Linked DNA regions of Homo sapiens: region 1 is linked to region 2. The links are contacts of gene promoters, found by promoter capture Hi-C in blood cells and fetal thymus (Javierre and others, 2016). All regions are on one chromosome and are shown on one strand. Each heading gives the region's core, a stretch centred on a gene start or on the middle of the fragment in contact. The rest is flanking DNA. Distances are from core to core; before and after follow the strand shown. Region 1 overlaps ATP8B3 (ATPase phospholipid transporting 8B3). Region 2 holds the start of APC2 (APC regulator of Wnt signaling pathway 2).

Region 1 (6,346 bases), core at 294-2,793, 340 kb after region 2:
TCATAGGCACATGCCATCACACCCGGCTAATTTCTTTGTATATATATATATTTTTTAAATAGAGGTGGTTTCACCATGTTGCCTGGGCTGGTCTCGAACTCCAGAGCTCAAGCAAGCTGCACACCTGAGCCTCAAAACGCTGAGATTACAGGCAGAAGCCACCACACCTGGCCTGCATGGCGAATTCTGACTATCACTCAAGACCTTCTATGCAGTCCACCCACCCGGTGCCTTCCCCAGCTGGGGCTCCCCCAGTCCCAGGCCCCTCCCTCTGACCCCTCAACTTTGGCTCTCTGAGCCCCTTCCTTGGGCCCCTCATTTCTCAAGGGCCAGACCCAGGGTTGGGGCCTCTAGGGGCTGGGAGGAAACTGGGCAGGCCCAGAGAGCAGGCACCCCAAGGGTGGTCGGGGGGTCCCCAAGGAAGGTGCCCTTACGGCTTCTTACCCCCCGACCCTGCCCCCAGCTTTGTGCTCCAAGGGGTGGCCTTAGGTCTCAAATTTGTTTATTTATTTATTTTTATTTATTTATTTTTTGAGATGGAGTCTCACTCTGTTGCCCAGGCTGGAGTGTAGTGGCGCGATCTTGGCTCACTGCAAGCTCTGCCTCCCGGGTTCAAGCGATTCTCCTGCCTCAGCCTCCCGAGTAGCTGAGACTACAGGCCTGCACCACCACATCTGGCTGATTTTGTAGTTTTAGTAGAGACAGGGTTTCACCAGGTTGGTCAGGCTGGCCTCGAACTCCTGACCTCAAATGATCTGCCCGCCTCCCAAAGCACTGGGATTACAGGCGTGAGCCATCGCGCCAGCCTGTTTATTAAGAGACAGGGGTCTCGCCCTGTCGCCCAGGCTGGAGTGCAGTGGTGCGATCACAGCTTGCTGTAGCCTCCACCTCCTGCACTCAAGCGATCCTCCTGCCTCAGGCTCCCAAAGTGCTGGGACCACAGGCACGCGCCACCATGTCTGATTTCCCTTTTGTTGTTGATGGGGCACGGGTCCAAGAGCTTGGGCTTGACACAGCAGAGGAGCTTCACGGACATTGGCAGCCTCCGACAGGCCTTGACCCTTCTTCCGGCCTCAATTTACCCATCCATTCCCTGGGGTGGCTGAGCTAAGCTGACCTGCTGAGCTCCTGGGCTCTAGGTCATTATTGTGACCGCACTTCCAGTTCAGAGTGCCCCCACATCCTGGCAGAGCAGGGGACACAGGACATCTTCCCACACACACCCCGCTGCCCTGTGCTCCATGCTGCTGGGGCCCCAGCAGAACCTGTGAGGAGCCCCCAGGCTGGACGCAGAATCCTCTGGCCCTGTAGGGTCAGGGCTGGACCAGGGGGAGGCAGCCTGGGGTGATGACAGCCCCATGTTGGCAGGGGGTGGGGCAGGAAAGGCCCCATGTGTGGGGAGCTTGTGGCTGAGTCATGAGGACACCGAAAGCTTCTGAATGACAAAGGTGCAGGGAAGACCCTCCCAGCACAGGAAACAGCATGTGCAAAGGTGCCAAGGCAGCACCTGAGAGTGGGGAAGTCACAAGCCAGAAACTGGGTCCTAGGGAGTCCCTTGGTGAGGCCAAAGAGAGACCAGGCTGGAGAGGTCAGCAGGGGACAGAAAAAGCCTCAAATCCTGGGCCGAGGAGTTCGGGCTTCCCCCACAGAGTGGGAAGCTTTGGAGCAGACGGAGCTGAGTGTGTCCTGGCAGCTGGGCCAGCTCAACCGCACGGTCGTCTTGTGCAAATGAGAAAAATACACCCTTGGCCGGGCGCGGTGGCCTACGCCTGTAATCCCAGCACTTTGAGAGGGCGAGGCGGGTGGATCACCTGAGGTCACGAGTTGGAGACCAGCCTGGCAACATGGTGAAACCCCATCTCTACTAAAAATACAAAATTGGCCGGGCGTGGTGGCGGGCGCCTGTAGTCTCAGCTACTCAGGAGGCTGAGGCAGGAGGATAGCTTAAGCCTGGGAGGCAGAGGTTGCAGTGACTCAAGATTGCACCATTGCACTCCAGCCTGGGCAACAGTGCAAGACTCCCTCTCAAAAAAGAAAAGGCAGGCTGGGCGCGATGGCTCATGTCTGTAATCCCAGCACTTTGGGAGGCCAAGGGGGCAGATCACCTGAGGTCAGGAGTTCAAGACCAGCCTGGCCCACATGGCGAAAACCCATCTCTACTAAAAATATTAAAATTAGCTGGGTGCACTGGCGTGTGCCTGTAATTCCAGCTCCTCGGGAGGCTGAGGCAGGAGAATCACTTGAACCCGGGAGGCGGAGGTTGCAGCGAGCCAAGACTGTGCCACTGCACTCCAGCCTGGGCGACAGAGCAAGACTCTGTCTCAAAGAAAAGAAAAGAAAGACAAGACAAGAAAAAGAAAAAGACGCTCTCTCTCTGGGGGCTACACTTGGGAGTTCAGCTGCCTCCCAGCCGGTGTGTGTGTGTTTTGTGTGTTGCCGGGGGAGGGTGTTTTGTACAGTGCACAACATACCTCACTGTACATAGCCATCCCAGGTACCTGCAGCCTTCCATTTCTCCGTACAGTCTCCTCCCCTGCCTCCTCCTCCTCCTGTCCCTACACACACACACACACACACACACACACACACACACACACACACACACACACACACACACACATAAGCCAGCCTTCCTGAAGGGACTCACAGCCAAGGCCTCCTCTGTGGCAAATTCCATTGCCCCCCTCCTGTGCAAGCGTTCGAAGATGACCGTGTCGGCGCCCTTGGTGTACAGGCAGATGGCGCCCTCTGGCTTTCGAACTGTGGGGGAACAGGCCCTGCTGCCCACAGAGGCTCCCCGTCTGCCCGCCCCACCTTGGGGGGCCCAGGGCTTGGGTGGCGGGGCTCACCCAGCACCGACATCCGTTTGCGCGTGCTGTTGAAGTCCATTATGGCCAGGACCTGGTAGACCCGTTCCTCCCCCAGCTCCATGATCGTGACGGTGTCCTGGGTGCGGGACAGGAACACGTAGCCGAAGTTCCGGGCTGCGGTGACCAGCGCCCCCTCGTCGGGGGAGGCCGCCTGGTACAACAGCTGGTCTGGTAGGGAGGGGGGCCATTTTGGGGTCACGTGGTGGAGCCCGTCTCCATCTCCACAGTGCAGGGAGGAGATGGGTATCGCCTGGGCTACACCTTTATTGATGGTGGCCGGGGACCCCCGCCTGTACAACCCAATGCATGGAGGTGAGCACTTGAGACTAGACGACCTTCCCGCTCAACAACAGATCCTCGGGCTCCGACCGCAGGCCTGGACATCCTTTAGCCCTGACGATGACACGTCCGCCCTCCCGCCACGATGCTTGTCAGCACTGTCTGGGCTCCAGGCCCGGACGCCCTCGAGGTGCGGCTGGTGTCACACCGGCCTCAGCGCCCCCCAAGCCAGCTGAAAGCCCTGGAAGATGGGCCGGGTGAGCTGCGGGGCTGGGGACACTGCCGTGCCCCGGGGGCTGAGCGGCCTCAGAGATGGGGAGGTGGGTGGGCGCACCTGGGCGCTCACGGGGGCTCTCCCGCACCATCACCGTGTGGCAGATGGCCAGCAGGCGCCAGAACTCCCGCACGGCCTCGTCCCCGTTGGTCCGCACGAGGTGCAGCAGGGCCGCATTGTGGAAGAGCAGCTTCCCGTCGGCGAACTTGTTCCAGAGGTAGGGGTTCTCCTGGGGGTGGCGGGGGCACGGGCCGGCTGTGGGTGGGCCGCTCCCCGTGCCCCGTCCCCCTCACCGTCCCGCGCTGCAAGCCAGGCAGGCTCACCTTAGGTCGGGTCGTGGCCTCTGAATCCGGCCCTGGGGAAAGACACAGCTTCCTGCTTCAGCTCCCACAGGCCCCCCATTCGGGATCCCATAGCCCCTGACCCCTAGTTTCAGGCTTCCGGGGGCCACTGGTGCAGCCACACAAGCCAGGCCTGTGGCCCTGGAACCGACACCCCGAGCAATCTTGGGGCGAAAGCTGACCTCAGTTTCCACCACCTGCAGAAAGCGGGGAAGAGGGGAGCACACCCATCCTGTCTCCCAGGGACCCCAAAAGGACAGCCTGGAGCCGGATGCGGCCCCGTCCCGTCTCCCAGGGACCCCAAAAGGACAGCCTGGAGCGGGATGCGGGCTAGGGACCCCAAAAGGACAGCCTGGAGCGGGATGTGGCCCCTTCCTGTCTCCCAGGGACCCCAAAAGGACAGCCTGGAGCGGGATGCAGCCCCATCCGTGGGACACACTTTGTTTCCTCCTCCTGGGGTTTTTGTTCTTTTTTATTTTTATTTATTTATTTATTTATTTATTTATTTATTTATTTATTTATTTTTGAGACAGAGTCCTGCTCTGTCGCCCAGACTGGAGTGCAGTGGCACAAGCTCAGCTCACTGCAACCTCAGCCTCCTGGGTTCAAGTGACTCTCCTGTCTCAGCCTCCCGAGTAGCTGGGATTACAAGCTCATGTCACCACGCCTGGCTCATTTTTGTATTTTTAGTAGAGATGGGGTTTCACCATGTTGGCCAGGCTGGTCTCAAACTCCTGACCTCCAGTGATCCGCCCGCCTCAGCCTCCCAAAGTGCTGGGATTACAGGCGTAGCCACCGCACCCAGCCACTTTTTATGCTTTATTGTTCTTAGAAATGGGGTCCTACTCTGTGGCCCAGGCTGCAGTGCAGTGGTGCGATCATAGCTCACTGCAGCCTCAACCTCCCGGGCTCAAGACATCTTCCCTCTTCAGCCTTCCAAGTTGCTGGGGCAACAGGTGCATGCCACCCCTTTGTGGTGTCTTTTGTGTGTGTGTGTGATGGAGTCTCTCTCTATCACCCAGGCTGCTGGAGTGCAGTGGCGTGACCTTGGCTCACTGCAACCTCCACCTCCGGGTTCAAGCAGTTCTCCTGCCTCAGCCTCCTGAGTAGCTGGGACTACAGGTGCCTGCCACCATGCCTGGCTAATTTTTGTATTTTTAGTAGAGACGGGGTTTTGTCATGTTGGCCAGGCTGCTCTCGAACTCCTGACCTCAGGTGATCCACCCGCCTCAACCTCGGGCCCATTTTTCTATAGCTGAACTTGAACCATTTCTTGGGGACTTCTCACTACACTAAATTATGACCCAGTCCAAACCACGTGCCCTGGTTATAAATTAGACCCGGGGCTGTCAAACTACACCCCACCACATCATCAATTTTTGTACGGCCTGCGAGCTAAGAATTGTTTTTGGATTTTTAATGGTCAGGAAAAAAAATGACTAGAATAATACTAATACTGTTTTGTGGCCGGGCGCGGTGGCTCACGCCTGTAATCCCAGCACTTTGGGAGGCTGAGGCAGGCAGATCACGAGGTCAGGAGATCGAGACCATCCTGGCTAACACGGTGAAACCCTGTCTCTATTAAAAATACAAAAAATTAGCCGGGCGTGGTGGCGGGCGCCTGTAGTCCCAGCTACTTGGGAGGCTGAGGCAGGAGAATGGCGTGAACCCGGGAAGTGGAGCTTGCAGTGAGCCGAGATCGCGCCACTGCACTCCAGCCTGGGCGACAGAGCGAGACTCTGTCTCAAAAAAAAAACAAAAAACAAACAAACAAACAAAACTATTTTATTTTGTGATCTGAGAAATACTCAGCAATTCGAATTTCAGCATCCACAAATAAAGGCTTGTGAAAGTCAAAAGAAGAGCAGTGGCCGGGTGTGGTGGCTCACATCTGTAATTCCAGTGCTTTGAAAAGCGGAGGCAGGCGGATCGCTTAAGCCCAGGAGTTCAAGACCAGCCTGGGCAACATAGGGATTCCCTGTCTTGACAAAAAATACAAAAATAAGCTGGGTAAGGTGGCACTCTCCTGTAGTCCCGGCTACTTGGGAAGCTGAAGTGGGAGGATTGCTTGAGCCCAGGAATTCGAGGCTGCAATAAGCTATGATTGCACCACTGCATTCCAGCCTGGGCGGCAGAGCAAGACCCCATCTCAAAAAATAAATAAATACACACTGTTTAAAAGTTTGGCTAGGTGTGGTGGCTCATGCCTGCAATGCCAATATTTTGGAGGCTGAGGCAGGCAGATCACCTGAAGTCAGGAGTTCGAGACCAGCCTGGGAAACAGGGTGAAACCCCATCTCTACTGAAAAAAAAAATACAAAAATTAGCCAGGCGGGGTGGCACGCAACTGTAATCCCAGCTACTTGGGAGGCTGAGGCGGGAGAATCAACCCAGGAGGCGGAGGTTTCAGTGAGCAGAGATCGCACCACTGCACTCCAGCCTGGGCAACGAGAGCAAAACTCCGTCTCAGAGAGAAAAAAAAAAAAAAAGTCGGCCGGGCGTGGTGGCTCACGCCTGTAATCCCAGCACTTTGGGAGGCCGAGGCAGGTGGATCGCCGGAGGCCAGGAGTTCGAGACCAGCA
Region 2 (5,919 bases), core at 3,420-5,919:
CCCTCACTGCCCTCGCGGGCTGCACTCTCCCCCAACACTCCCCAGGGCTGTTCGGCCTCCCCAGCAGCTCCCCATGCCCTGCCCGCCGCGCTGGCGTCTCTCCCAGCCCGCTGCAGTCCCCTCGTTCACGTCAGCTTCCCAAGGGCCTGGATTTTGTTTTGTTCAGTGCAGGGGGACCCAGCACACAGTAGGTGCTTTATAAATGCTTGTTGCATGAATGTCCGCGTTCGGTGTCGCCCCCTTACGGCGGCCCCCCGCGCGCCCAGCTCGGCGCCCAGCAAGCCTTGTGCGCGCAGGTGATGTTTGCTGAATGACTAATGAACCTCAGCGCGCCAAGCCGGGCTGATTCGGGGGTGGTTCCGAGCTTCCGCAGGGTGACCGTCCGCGGGCAGCGGACCACAGCCGCATGGCGACGCCGCCTCTGGCCCCCCGCGACCCCCATTCCCCGTGGGACCTCTCGTGCCCCCACCCCCACCCGGCCTCCTCCCCGCCGCCTCGGGCCCCCCCAGCCTCCTCCGCATTCGAACTCCCCAGCGTGGTCGGACCCGGACCCTGGCGCCGCTCGGCCCACGCGAGTCCCCTCCCCTCTCTCCCATCCTTGGATCTCCCACCGCCCCTCCGCAGCCTCGGTCCCGCGAGACTCCCCAGCCCCCGCGAGCACCCCCAGACCCCACGGTACGCCCTCGCCCCTTTCGGGAGGAGCCCCGCCCCGGGCCCGCGGACTGACCCCTCCCGCCCCTCTCCGCGCAGGCGCAGGGCGGCCCCGTTCGCGTCCCGCACCCCCACCCTGGCCGCCGAGGGGCGGGGCGCGGCGGGTCCGGGGCGGCCGCGGCTCCATGGGGCTCCTGGGGCTCCTGAGCCTGCTGCACTCGGCCTTCTTCGGGGACCAGGTAGGGCGCGTGGGTCGAGCCGTTGGGGAGGGCTCCGGGCCGCGCAGGAACGGGGCGGGGTCCACACCGCGGGAACAGCGGGCGCGGCGGCGGGGGGCGCATGGGGCGAGCGCGCGGAGGCTGCAGAGTCGGGGGTCTAGTGCCGTCGCCGTAGAGACCGTTGCCGGGAAACCGCCTCGGAAGGCTGGCGGGGATGGAAGCCCCTCTCGTGCGCCGCTGCGACCCCCAGCCCCGGGTCTGCGCAAGCGCAGGGCTCGCCCAGCCCAGCCCTCGGCCTCTGCAGGAGACCCTCGGACCCCTCCTCACTGCGCCGACGCGGAGGCTGCGCCAGCTGGGGCGGCGGGGGCGGCTGCGGGGGCATCCTGCGGAGGCTCGGCCCTGCGCAGGGTGGGGGCCTGGGCCACGCCCTGCGCTTCTTTGGGCCTCAGTTTCCCCTTCTGGGCGCGAGCGTATGGCCTGCTTTGACGTTCGCCGCCGCTGCTGTTCGTATCCGTCCGCTCCCGACCCCAGCGCTTCTCCAGCCTCCGGAATCGTCTGAATTTCGCGGCTGTGACATCCCTCATTGGAGGGGAAACTGAGGCTGGGGGGTGCAGCGGGGAGCCCAAGGTCACGCTTCGAGGCCGGAGCCTCGTTGCGGAGCTAAGGCGCCCGCAAGAGAACGCGGGGCGGGGGCCGGGGAGCTGTCCGCGGTGCTGACGGAGGCGCACGTCTGCCGACTCGCCGCCGGGGAAACTGAGGCCCATAGCGGCGGTCAGGCTTCAGGGCGCGGCCTGGACCGGCCTACCCCACCCTCCCCCACCTCCGGTGGCCTCCTCACCGGTCAGGGCTCTGCCCGGCCACCCAGCCGGCGGCGGGCCGTCTCTATCCTCCCGCGATGACCTGGTGCCTTCTCTGTCCCCACCCAGCTCCCGATGGGGGCCGCCCCTGTTTCTGCCTCTAGCCCCTGGCACAGAGGAGGCATCAAGGGGGCGGGGACAGCTCGAGGTCAGACTCAGAAGGCTCAAAGACACTCCAAGAGTGAGCCGTGTGCCAGGCTGCGGACTTGCGGGGAGGTGTCACAGGACAGGGGTGGGGGAGTGAGCATTTCATGGAACTTCCCCTTTAGCCCAGCAGCAGTAGGGGGCGTGGAGGACCCCAGGGAGGAGCCTAGGTCGGGGTCTTGGGCTAGGCCCTGCGTTCTGCAGTGGGAGAAGGGGGAGACCTCTCTCAGTCTCCTGAAGTCCTAGGGGGCTGTGGGGGGTTCTTGAGGCTCTGAAATGTCTGGTGATGTCTGAGTGTGGCTGTGGTTCAAGGATTTACAGGGTCGAGGATTTTAGTGTGTGGGGGGGGATTGTTCAGGGACATAATGTTTTGTAGATTTGGGGCCAAGGGCATCTTGTCTTGGGGTCTCAGCCCCCATGTACCCTCAGCCCTCCAGGCCCTGGCCACCCCCAGAGGGATAAGAAGGGAGGTTCAGTGTCACTCCGGAGGCCTGGCTGGCACAGGTGAACTCAGGCAACACGTTCCCTGGCCCAGGCCTCAGTTTCCCCATGTATACAAGGACAGGACTGACCTTGGATCCCCCAAACCCCTGCCTGATGGGGGCCTGGGGAGCTGAGACATCTGAAACTACACAGGGAGGTGGGACTTAGTTCCTCTTTGGGGGAGGCAGGGATCATCCAACCCACCCTTCAGTAAACAAGACTGGAAACCGAGGCCAGAGAGAGACATGCCCAGGGGGACACAGGGACAACAAGGCTGAGCTGAAGCCAGGGCCCTGGGCTCTGCATCCCCAACCCCATTTCAGCCTCGCCCAGCTCTGCCCCGGCTTGACCTGTCAAACCCCACCACGCGCCCTACCCCATGGCTCCACCAGACACCCCCTGTGTCCCAAGCATGCATTGATCTTCCCTCAGCCTGGAACGCCTCTCCTCCTGATCACTGCTGTTCACTTCTCAGGGCAGCCTTCCAGCCTCCAGAAAAAAATCCCCTTCGAGGCGGGCGGATCATGAGGTCAGGAGTTTGAGACCAGCCCGACCAACACGGTGAAACCCCCTCTCTATTAAAAATACAAAAATTAGCTGGCAAGGTGGTACATGCCTGTAATCCCAGTTACTGAGGAGTCTGAGGCAGGAGAATCACTTGAACCCAGGAGGCGGAGGTTGCGGTGAGCCGAGATGGCGCCACTGCACTGCAGCCTGGGGGACAGAGCAAGACCCCATCTAAAAAAAAAAAAAAAAAAAGGCCGGGCGTGGTGGTTCACGCCTGTAATCCCAGCACTTTGGGAGGCCGAGGCGGGTGGATCACGAGGTCAGGAGATCGAGACCATCCTGGCTAACGTGAAATCCCGTCTCTACTAAAAAATACAAAAAATTAGCCTGGGCGTGGTGGCGGGCGCCTGTAGTCCCAGCTACTCGGGAGGCTGAGGCAGGAGAATGGCGTGAACCTGGGAGGCGGAGCTTGCAGTGAGCCGAGAACGTGCCACTGCACTCCAGCCTGGGCTACAGAGCAAGACTCCGTCTCAAAAAAAAAAAAAAGAAAAAAAAGAAAAAGAAAAAAGAAAAGATCCCCTGTGTCTGCCCACTGCATTGCCTCCCCAGACCCAACCAGTGGGGACAGCTGCGTCCAGCTCTGGGGGCTCCCAGACAGCCAGGCCGAAGGGCTCTCAGCCCCTGGCAGTGCTGGCCCGGGACAAGGCCCTCGGGTCTTCAGCTCAAGGCCCAACAGGAAACAGCACGGGTCCTCCCTTGCCTTTGTCTACGGGGCCTTGAATACTCGGACCTTCCCACCCTCTCCTATCATTCCCTGCACCAGCCCTTGCAGAATCTTCCGCCTCCTCTCCATTTTACAGAGGAGGAAACCGAGGGTTGAGCGGCGAATGATTTGCCCTGCCTGCCCAGCACGGAAAAAAATCACTCTTCTGGCCCCAGTCGCCTCCCTTTCTGTGCTGTGAGTCTGTGTCCAGAGCAGGAAGGGCTGCTCCGAGCTGCAGGGACGGGCTCTGTGTGTTAAACCTTCAAATGGCTTCCAGGGACTCATGGAGCATCCAGGACACCTGGAGATGGCGACTCCTGGGACCCCTGGCCCTTCCCTCCTCTGGCCTTCGGTCCGTGAGGGTGAATTAAGTGTGCCACCCACCAGGGGCAGAGACACATGGAGACAGAGATTGAGAGACAGAGAACAGAGGGGGAGACAGAAAGAGAGAGGGACATGAAGAGCAACGGAGTTACAGGAGGATCTGACGCTCCGTTGGGGAGACAGGGAGAAATGTGGGGAGATGCAGCGTCCCAGGTGCTCCCCAGTGGCCCTGCCCCTCCTCCCCTCTCCCCTCCCCACCAGGCAGGACCCTCAGGGAGCTCCAGCCTGGACCCGAACCCTGTCCCACCCTGACGCACCTGCACCAGGCCAGGCTGGACCTGTGGGGTGGGTGCAGGCCTGGCCCCAGCCCGGCCACTGCCCTGGAAACCCCTCCCCCGCCAAGATGCTGATGTAACATCCAGGATTTGATGTTTTACTCTCCAATTCTGCAAATCCAGACGCAGGAGGTTTTAAGAGGCCGTTGCACCCTGCAATAAAGTGCGGGACACAGGAATCTTGGTCCTCGGGGCACCCCCTTCCCTCGGGGGGGTTTCGCCCCCCGCACTCACGGCCCCTGAGCCCGCGCGGAGGCCCGACGCCCCGCGGCCGACGCCGGTCCCCGCCCCGGGCCGCCATTGGCTGTTGCCATGGCACCAGCCCGTCTTCCCGCGCCCTCATTGGCTGTCTCACCCGCATCCCTCATCCCGCATCCTCCCCCGCTCGCGGTGGTCTCGCCCAGCGCTAGGAGCGGCAGCGCCGCCTGCCCAGGCCCGGACCGGGCTTTGTCCGCCCCGGAGCCCCTGCCCGCGCCGCGGAGACCCCGGAGCCCGCGCGCTCCGAGGCCACCCCGGGCCGGGATTTCCGGTGGGGCCCGCGGAGCCGCGCAGAGGGAGGAGGCCCCAGACCCAGGCGCCCCGCCAGCCCAGCTGCACGTAAGCGGGTGTGTGTCCTCGGGGAGGAGGGCAGGGGCGCGACCTCCGCCTCGCGTCGAGGTTTCCATCCCTGGCTCTCAGCATTGCCCGTCAGCACAGACTCTGGACCCTCCATTTCCCCAGAGTGGGAGCTGGAGGGGAAACTGAGTCCCGGTGAGCTGGGCGTCAGCGTTTCTGCAGCCGGTCCTGCGCACACACCCACTCACGGGCTTCACCATCCGGACCTCCCTGAGGTGATCGGAGGAAGGGATGGGCAGGCCAGTGGTGTGTCTTCGGGGGTGTTGCTGCACCTCTCTGGGTGTCAGTTTCCCTCTCTGGAAAGAGGGGGTTTGGATTAAAGGAAGGAGAAAGGCCCCTTTGGGCCTGGCTTCCCATACCTGTGCCTCCCTCCCCTGAAATGCAGCCCGCTCAATAAGACCAGCCCCCAGTCATGGTGCCTTCAGGGAGTGATCGCTCAGGAAGGCCCCCAGGAGGCTACACGATGCAACCTGGGGGTGAAAGTAGGCAGAAGAGCTTCGTGGAAGAAGCTGCACTGTGTGGGATGGCAGGACTTAGAAAAGGTGCTCTAGGCAGGGCAACTGCACGTGCAAAGGCCTGAGAGAAGAGAGCCTCCAGCCTCTAAGTGAGTCGCGGTGTACATGGAGGAGTCGGAGCGTATCCTGAGGGCACTGGGGAGCCATGGAAGGTGTTTGAGCATGGGAGAAATGGGATCTCACTTGTGACGTTTAAAGCTCCCTCTGGCTGTGCATGGGGGACTGTGGGAGGCCAGGAAGAGGCTGATCAGAATGTCCTCACAGAGGGGTGTCAGGAGCTGGGGGAGGCATGATCCCGCTGGGCAGAGCTTGGAGGGACTAGCTTAGTCTGATGAGGATGCAGAAATGACCACCGAATGTGGGGAGAGGGAAGGTGTCTGAGGCTTGGCTTCGGTCAGCTGAGAAGAACCACGTGGGGGAGGCCTGGGTTTGGGGAGCAGGAGGCAGACATGTGTTGCTTTGCACGTCATCTGGTCCTTCCACCTGGCTGGGCATGGGATGGTGACC

Evidence for each region. Contacts are between HindIII fragments. The CHiCAGO score rates a contact against its expected background, and 5 or more counts as called.
Region 1: a fragment that was not itself captured here is called in contact with the fragment with the promoter of APC2 in region 2 in 1 of 17 cell types (naive B cells); the score reaches 5.2 in naive B cells.

What each region holds. Positions count from the first base shown.
Region 1 is chr19:1,793,228-1,799,573 of GRCh38, forward strand. It overlaps ATP8B3 (ATPase phospholipid transporting 8B3), which reads right to left. Exons shown (of 29, transcript NM_138813.4): 15 at 3,747-3,778; 16 at 3,484-3,652; 17 at 2,850-3,038; 18 at 2,648-2,760. Among named protein-coding and RNA genes, the nearest start is that of ATP8B3, 16 kb to the right of the region's middle. RefSeq lists enhancers at 2,383-3,195, 2,603-2,897, 3,196-4,007 and a silencer at 2,603-2,897. The HindIII fragment of the contact is 226 bases long and covers 1,431-1,656 here.
Region 2 is chr19:1,445,452-1,451,370 of GRCh38, forward strand. It overlaps APC2 (APC regulator of Wnt signaling pathway 2), which reads left to right and starts at 4,670. Exons shown (of 15, transcript NM_005883.3): 1 at 4,670-4,887. RefSeq lists silencers at 1-169, 220-319, 780-829, 1,479-1,773, 4,517-4,716. The HindIII fragment of the contact is 28,474 bases long and covers 1-5,919 here.